Linked DNA regions of Homo sapiens: region 2 is linked to region 1. Evidence: promoter capture Hi-C in 16 types of primary human blood cells and fetal thymus (Javierre and others, 2016). All regions are on one chromosome and are shown on one strand. The core of a region is centred on a gene start or on the middle of the fragment in contact, and the rest is flanking DNA. Distances in the headings are between cores, read along the strand shown. Region 1 holds the start of PITPNA (phosphatidylinositol transfer protein alpha). Region 2 overlaps YWHAE (tyrosine 3-monooxygenase/tryptophan 5-monooxygenase activation protein epsilon).

Region 1 (4,164 bases), core at 759-3,258:
CTCCGAGCCCTGGCTGAATTAACATCAGACTGGATGTCAAGAAACAGAGGGGATGAGGCCTCAAAATAATGCTCTTCAGATGAGGTGTTTAGCTGGGATGACATGTGGGTCTCAGCTCCCTCTGTTACCCAAACTCCACTCTATGTCCTAAATGTCCTAAGCACCTCCAAGGAGCCAGCCTGGTGGGGATGGTCAAAGTGCGATCGCTGACAAAGTGGCAAGAGCTCTCTGCACACCTGCCTGGCTGCCTCACAAGTTGCTCTCTGTTTGACCATCTCCCACTCCTGGGGCTTCTGGCCCTCCCTCCAGGAAAGCAGTTTCACTGTAAATTCTGTGCACACACGCACACGCACACACACACACACACCCATCCTATCTCTCCTCTTTGGGGAGAAAAATGTCCTGTGATGCTTACTTGGAACCCTGAGCTTCAACGATGGCTCATCTTGTACTTGAAAGATTTAGCACACCAAACATCTCCACCTGTCCCCCAGTCCCCTGGATTTCAGGAGCAAACCCGTCATCCTGCAACTCCTTCCAGAAGTCACCAGTTTCCCACGCACCCCTCTTCACTACTCAAGAGCTCCCCACCCCTTCCACCATCTCTCCTCAGTTCACGGCTCCATGGACCCCTCAATTCCTCAAAGAATTTCCCCATCTCTTTGCACCAAGACTGAGAATCCCCTAGAAACAAGCTGGCCCTGCCCTGGTCTCCCCCATCTCCAACGGCAGGTATACTCATCCCAACATACTCTCTTTCCGGACCAGCCTCGACCCCGGTAACTTCCCGGCCTTCTCCACTTCGGACCCTACCCAACATTTTCTGGCCTCCTCGCCCAAGTCTCCCCACGTCCCAAGCAGTCATCCCAAGCTTGTTCCAAAAGCCTCCTCTTCCGCACCAGCTGCTTGGGCACCACGGTTACTCCGGCCCGCATCTCAGCCCCCTCTGCATGTCCTCAGACCCTTCACCTGTCTCCCCAGCCAGGCCCTGACTTCCTAGTCCTCCTCCTGTGTCCACTTACCACCACCCCTCACCCGATGCCTAAGGCGGCCACTCCTCCCCATCCCCATCCCAACTCCATCGCGGAGCCTCTGACCCATCCACCCGGCTCTCCGTGTGAACTGTTCGGCCCTCCACCTTTCCCCACCGCCGGGAGGCCCTGCCTGCCCCGGTGCGCCTCTTCCTCGGCCGCCGCGGGGCCTCTCAGCGCCGCCTGCAGTCCCGGCTGAGCCCGCGCCCTCGGCCCGCGCAGAGCGACCCCACAGCACTCCCAGCGCTCGGCGTCCCCTCGGCCTCCCCCAGTCCCGGGCCAGCTCTCCCTGCCCTGACCCCGTCTCGGGCCTGGCCTCGCCCTCGCTGTCCCCGGCCTCTCCTCGGGTCCACTTGGGCCTCCGAGGCCCCCGGGGCGCCTGAGGAGCCGTCCGCCCGGGTTGTCCCTCCGTGCCCGTGGGCCCCTCCATGCCCCGGCTGCCCGTCCATGCCCCGTGGGCCCCGGCTCAGATGCCGAACGCCCCGGCTGCCCCTCCACGCCCCGGCCGCCCCTCCACGCCCCGGCCGCCCCTCCGTGCCCCGTGGGCCCCGCCTCACGTGCCGCCCGCCCCGGATCCCCTCCATCCCCGCTGGGCCCGCCTCAGGCACCCTCCGTCCCTGCTGCCCCTCCGTCCATCCGGGCCCTGCGTCCCTCGCCGCGCCGTCGCCCCGGCGGCCGTCCCCACCCTCCCTCCTCCCCGCTTCCGCACGGCCGCCGGACACTCACTACTCCTTGAGCAGCACCATGTCGCTTCGCGGCTCGGTGGCTGCCCGCGGCCCGCCCGGCCTCCCGCCCGCTGCCCGCCGGCCGCTCTCCCCGTGGCCCGGCCCGGCCCGGCTGCCTGTGCGTCTTCGTCGTGCTCTGCTCCGTCCCCGCCGCCCTCGCCGCGGTCGCCGCGCCGGCTCCTGCCGCCCGGGCCTCGTCGCCTCTCGCGCCGCTGCCGACGCCGCCCGGAGCTCCGGTTCCGCAGCGCCGCGCGGGGGCGGGGCGTCTCTGCGGCAACCAGAGCGTCACACGCCGCGGTGCGCGCTGACGTCACGCGGGGCCGAGCCTTCCCAGGCCCGCCCTCCCGTCCTTAAGTGGGCCGCGGCGGCGCTGTCGGTTCCGAGGTGGGGCCCCGCGGCTGGGGCCAGACCCGGCAGAAGGCGGAGCAGACTAGGGTGTCCGTCACCGTCCTCGGTGTGAACCGCCACGGATGCACGCGGGTGCTGGCTGGGGGGCCTCCCCGGTTGAGGGAATTGAGACCCAGGAAAAGGTTGTTTCAAAAAATATTAATAGCCGCGCGCGGTGGCCCACGCCTGTAATCCTTGCACCTTGGGAGGCCGAGGCGGGCGGATCACCTGAGGTCAGGAGTTCGAGACCAGCCTGGCCAACATGATGAAACCCCGTCTCTACTAAAAATACAAAAATTAGCTGGGCGTGGAGGCACGCACCTGTAATCCCAGCTACACGGGAGGCTGAGGCGGGAGAATCGCTTGTACCGGGAGGCAGAGTTTGCAGTGAGCCGAGATCGCGATCGCGCCATTGCACTCCAGCCTGGGGGACAAGAGTGAAACTTCGTCTCAAAAAAAAAAAAAAGAAAAGAAAAGGGCTGTGAGGCCGGGCGCGGTGGCTCCTGGCAGTAATCCCAGGCACATCATGCCTGTAATGCAGCACTCAGGCGGGCGCATCACCTGAGGTCAGGAGTTCCAGACCAGATGGCGAAACCCCATCTCTACTAAAAGTACAAAAATTAGCCGGGCGTGGTGGTGGACGTGGTGGTGGTAGTCCCAGCTGCTCGGGAGGATGAGGCAGGAGAATCGCTTGAACCCTGGAGGCGGAGGTTGCAGTGAGCCGAGATCGCACCATTGCACTCCAGCTGGGGCGACAGAGCGAGACTCTGCATCAAAAAAAAAAAAAAAAAAAAGAATGAAAAGGGCTGTGAGAAATGAGACACAGGCTTAGCGGCATTACACGGAGGGGCACCTAATTGAGCGTCAGGGATGTAGTCAGGGAAGGCTTCCTGGAGGAAGAGATTCTCAGATCTGCAGAGGGCTTCGGAGAAGAGCATAGCAGGCAGAGTGAATGCAAAGGCTGGAGGCAAGAGGGAGAGCATGGTGCATTTGGAGAACTGACAAGTGAGTGGAACAGAACATTTCAGGGCTGAGCAGCTCAATAGGGGAGGGTTCCTGGTGAACGATGATAAGGTATTTGGAGTCCACCCTAAGGGCGGTGGGAGGGCATGTAAGGGCTCTGAGCAGTGACATGAGCGGGTGTCCTGGGCGAAGGCTCACTCTAGTGGTTGGGTGGACAGAGGGGATGGAATGCCAGAGCGTAGGCAGGGAGACCGGCGAGGAGGCTGCTGCAGATGTCCAGGTGCAGGTGGACTAGGACAGTGGGAGGGAAGAAAAGGAAGGGATGGATTCAGGAGCAACTCAGAAGGTAAACTCCGTGAGACTTGTTGACTCATTGGCTGAGAGGAGGAGAGAAAAGCAGCGAGGTCTCTGGCCTGGGAGCCGGGGTGGACGGTACTGTCTTCTCTGAGAACACAGGCAAGACAGGCTGGCATGGGGGCAGGTAATGACTCCAGTGCTGGACTCACACTCAGCGCAGGACGCTAGAGGGGCATCCAGGGGAGATGGGAGTGGGCTGCCTAAGACAGGGACTTGGGAAGGGAGGGTGGAGCAGCTGGCCGTGTTGCTATCAGGATGTGACTGGCGGCCCGCGACTGCCCTGAGCACTGTGCTCACTTATCAGATCCTAGAGTGGGGGCCAGGCTGAGTGCCTCACACCTGGATTCCCAGCACTTTGGGAGGCTGGGGCGGGCGAATCACTTGAGGCCAGGAGTTCAAGACCAGCCTGGCCAACATGGTAAAACCCCATCTCTACTAAAACAAAAATTAGCTCAGTGTGGTGGCATGTGCCTGTCGTCTCAGTTACTCGGGAGGCTGAGGTAGGAGAATCGCTTGAGCCCTGGAGGCAGAGGTTGCAGTGAGCCGAGATCATGCCACCGCACTCCAGCCTGGGCGACAGAGCAAGATTCTGTCTCAAAAAAACAAGCCGACCACTATTCACAATAGCAAAGACTTGGAACCAACCCAAATGCCCATCAATGACAGACTGGATAAAGAAAATGTGGCACAGCCGGGCGCGG
Region 2 (4,164 bases), core at 466-2,965, 220 kb before region 1:
TCTATTACAATCCTACGAACTCAAAGAAACAGGATAAAACAACACAGGGCTTGGTTTTCCTGATCCAGGTTGGATCTGGGAGCATTCCCATTTCCTCTCACAGTGCTCACAAAGGCTTCCTTTAATGACACACTCTAGGATTTCACCAGTTTTCCATGAACTATTACTTGTTACAATTTTCAAAAGAACACAGGGGTCACACCTTTATCCCGCTTTTTCAGCAAGCCTCACTCTCCTCTATTGTCCTAGGATCAGGAAGCAGCTAATTTGGGGTCTCATTTATAAGGCTCAAGGCATTTGTCTGGGACAGAAGCCAATTAATGTCTCCATTTATCCCACCAGTTTCCCCTTTCAGTGATGGAAGTTCATCCCCATCTTCCTATAGGACCGAAATTTAACTTTGCAGACGTGCTGTTCTGAGGACCCACCCGGAACAGAGCATGTACACAAACCCACTTACTGTCGCTTCTAACATTGTAGGAAGCCTTTGGGTTTTCCAAGGCAGCAAAGTACTGAGATTTGTAATTAAAAACACATATTAGCTACATTCAAGTTGTAACTAACTAAAAACTTCTACTTAAGTCGACTGATCCTCAAAGTAAGACTCAAATCAAAACCAGAAAAGTTTGGGGGCAATTCCCTTTCCAGCCCACAAATACAGGAACTGGGAGTGACACCGTCCTCACAGGGCTACGGCACCTTTCTGCAGCTTCCCTGGCTCCCTTTCAATTTTTTTTTTTTTTTTTTTTTTTTGAGACGGAGTTCTGCTCTTATTGCCCAGATTAGAGTGCAGTGGCGCGATCTTGGCTCACTGCAAGCTCCGCCTTCCAGTTTCCAGCGATTGTCCTGCCTCAGGCCTCCCAAGTCACTGGATGTTAATTACACCCAGCAAGGTCGCCCGCCACCACGCCTGGCTAATTTTTTTGTATTTTTAGTAGAGACAGGGTTTCCCCATGTTGTCCAGGCTGGTCTCTTAACTGCTGACCTCGTGATCCACCCACCACGGCCTCCGAAAGTGCTGGGATTACAGGCGTGAGCCACCGCACCCGGCCTTTCAATTTTTGATAAGGATCTTTCCTTTTTTTTTTTTTTGAGACAGTCTCACTCTGTCGCCCAGGCTGGAGTGCAGTAGCGTGATCTCGGCTCACTGCAACCTCTGCCTCCCGGGTTCAAGCGATTCTCCTGCCTCAGCCTCCCGAGTAGCTGGGAGTACAGGCGTGCGCCACCATGCCTGGCTAATTTTTTGTACTTTTAGTAGAGACGGAGTTTCACCGTGTTAGCCAGGATGGTCTCAATCTCCTGACCTCGTGATCCGCCCGCCTCGGCCTCTCAAATTGCAGGGATTACAGGTGTGAGCCACCGCACCCAGCCGAGTGGTTTCTTTAAACTCTGCAACAGACTTGACGAATTCCTTGGATTTTGACCTTTAAGTGTAGCAGGTGTGCTGGAAACAGAGCAAATCAACTTGAAAGCTTCTTGGAGGTTGCTCCAAACAGCAGCATATAATTATATTCAATGGTCTCCCTATCTCTCGGAAAAGCAACTCACAAAAACATGTTTATTCTCATTGCCAGCACTCACTAAACGCTACTAGGATATCGCTGATCTGTTCATTTCCTAAATCTCTGCTACTAACACTTTAAACCGAGAGTAAACTTGCAGTCTCAACATCCAATTTTAGAAGACAAGTGTGACGAGGAAGGATTTATCAACTGAAAAATGTTTACTGACACAGGGAATCTAGAAATGTACCTTCCAGATACATACAAATATTTAAGCAAAAACTGTTCCAAGGGTATTTCCTGCAGCACCTGCCCAAAAGGAGCAAACTGGTCTTAACAAAATCAGGTGTACATCAATGTTACGCAGTCAGAATGAGACACATCTGAATGCCTAACATAAAAAGATCTACAGTAACTAGGTATCTATACACATTGATGTATAAACTGTTTATGGAAAGAAGCTTCTTATACAGTGTTTCTGGAAAGGGAGACTGCTATCCTGCTGTCTATAATGTGTGTATGGATTACTAAGAAAGGATTGAGTAATTCTCCACTACTGCCACTAGCCTCTGGAGGAAGAGGGCACACAGTTTTTACCTCTAAGAATTATTATAAGACATTCAGCCTTATTTGGTTGTATGAAATACTATGCTAGAAAATGATCCATAATTACACCTTGTACTACTCATGTTGTACTTTAATGATTAAAATAAATACCATGTTGCTGCCTGGTCTGGAGGACAAGACACACCATCAACTGACTCAGTGTTCTTCACAACCAGACTACAGGCAATTTTTTTCCAAAACATACATCTTTGGGAAGCAAACAAATTATTTATGGAAGAAAAAAGGAGGAATGTTTCACATTCAGGCAAACATAATACTGTCAGTGTGTTTGGACTAGAGATTTTATTTTAGAAGTATAAAGGATGGAGGCGCGATATTTGGCATTTTTAATTTAGGTTTGTTTTATTTAAGTTTAATGTTAATTCCATGCTGTGTTTCAGTAAGAACAATACAGATTCTGTATCTGTGGCTCCAGTCAGATATCCAGTAGTACAAATTAGCTTCAAGTTACACATACTGAACAAAAGAGGTTGAGCGAGCGAAGGAGGGGAGGAGTGAGGGGAAGGAGGTAGGGGGAGGGGGAAGGAGAAGAAACAAAAGAATTGAACAGGCATGCAGGCTTTTCCATACCACCTTCAACGCTAACCTGCTTCAGTGGGAGAGTAAAGTAGGCAAGAATGAGCAGCCACGGATTGTTGAACTGTTACCAGCACCATGCTTTTCAGCAACATTTCAGCGGAGTTGGAAACATTTTTTACAGCAAAACCATTACAACGAAGTCCCTCCCCAAACCACCTTTAACCATCTCAAGCTAACACCCAATTACTTGCAAACACTGGTATAAAACACAGTTTAAACAATTAGAAAAATGAAAACTGATACCACTTATGCCTCTATAGTGTGATTAACCTCTCTCTTAGATGCTTGCATCACCTATAAGTCTAATGGCTTTCAAATGTAATTTCCATTTGCTAATGGTGATCTTGCCACATCTGGCACGGAGACGACACAGTAATGCTGAAAAAGCCTCTATGTAGTCCTGTTAGTGTCTTAAAGAACCTAAAAGCTGGGACCAGTAAAATCCACAGAAATTCACTCTTGCCTTTAAGAACTTTTGAAAACTGTTTAAAAAAAAAAAAAAAAAACCAACAGGGCAGGAACCTAAATTCTGAGACCAAATGTAAAAGTCAGATTTGGTGGTTCTCAGTGACAATGGGGAGTTTCCAAAGGGTGGGATGGGGAGGAGGGGGTGGTCAGAGATGGTTTCTCTTGTTGGCTTATGTCTCACTGATTTTCGTCTTCCACGTCCTGCAGCGCTTCTTTATTCTGCTCTTCACCTGTTAAAAAAGAAAAAAAGTCAATTATTTCGTATTGACTACATTAGGCTATGGCAGCCACAAACAAAGGTGTCATTCCAAGCATAAAGACTCTTCTACTTGCTACAATTGGTATTAAACGCAGGCAAAGGACTTCTATCATCCTTGACACCTGAGATGCCTAAGCCAAGAAGGGATTATGGTCCTGAAAGTATTTATTGGTCAACAGAATGAAAAAAACTGATGCGCAGTACAACTCAATGTTTTTACGCTAAATAAGCTCTTGACGTAGACAGCCAAGGAAACCATCTTACTAAAATGACATTCAAGCTTTCACATAAATCTTGGGTCAAAATACTCTTTCTCAATAACCTCACCTCTTCAAGAATCAAGAGTATTTTGCAAACTTTTTGCAAAATCTAATTTACCCACAAGCTAATTATCAGAAATGCTTCAAAATAGTTAACTGAGCAATAAACTGTTGCCAAGAAGTTCTATCGTATTTTATTGTGGGGTTCTGCTGTTATAAATATTTCAGCTTTTGTATCTTGGCCAGATACACCAAACTATAATCAGATTTTACTTCAGAGTGAAACACAGCATGCTCAAAGTAAATCAGACCACTGAGGTTATTAAAGAATGGCATTTGGACCACTTCACTCATGCTATTTGTCTTTTGCCTTTAAAGAGGGTGATTACCCTAAGGAGTTTCAACTGCACTATGACATGCAACAGAAAGCCACCTATTGGTTGGAGGGTCATCTACCTATTAGTATGCA

The links. The method cuts DNA at HindIII sites, captures the fragments that hold promoters and counts their contacts. A CHiCAGO score of 5 or more calls a contact.
Region 2: a fragment that was not itself captured here is called in contact with the fragment with the promoter of PITPNA in region 1 in 5 of 17 cell types (erythroblasts, megakaryocytes, naive B cells and 2 more); the score reaches 7.2 in erythroblasts.

Annotation. Positions count from the first base shown.
Region 1 is chr17:1,560,784-1,564,947 of GRCh38, forward strand. PITPNA (phosphatidylinositol transfer protein alpha) reads right to left here and starts at 2,009. Exons shown (of 12, transcript NM_006224.4): 1 at 1,758-2,009. The coding sequence starts at 1,777. RefSeq lists enhancers at 1-47, 962-1,061, 1,830-2,329 and silencers at 1,172-1,301, 1,782-1,831, 1,902-2,181. The HindIII fragment of the contact is 8,315 bases long and covers 870-4,164 here.
Region 2 is chr17:1,342,094-1,346,257 of GRCh38, forward strand. It overlaps YWHAE (tyrosine 3-monooxygenase/tryptophan 5-monooxygenase activation protein epsilon), which reads right to left. Exons shown (of 6, transcript NM_006761.5): 6 at 2,182-3,406. The coding sequence ends at 3,354. Among named protein-coding and RNA genes, the nearest start is that of YWHAE, 56 kb to the right of the region's middle. The HindIII fragment of the contact is 491 bases long and covers 1,471-1,961 here.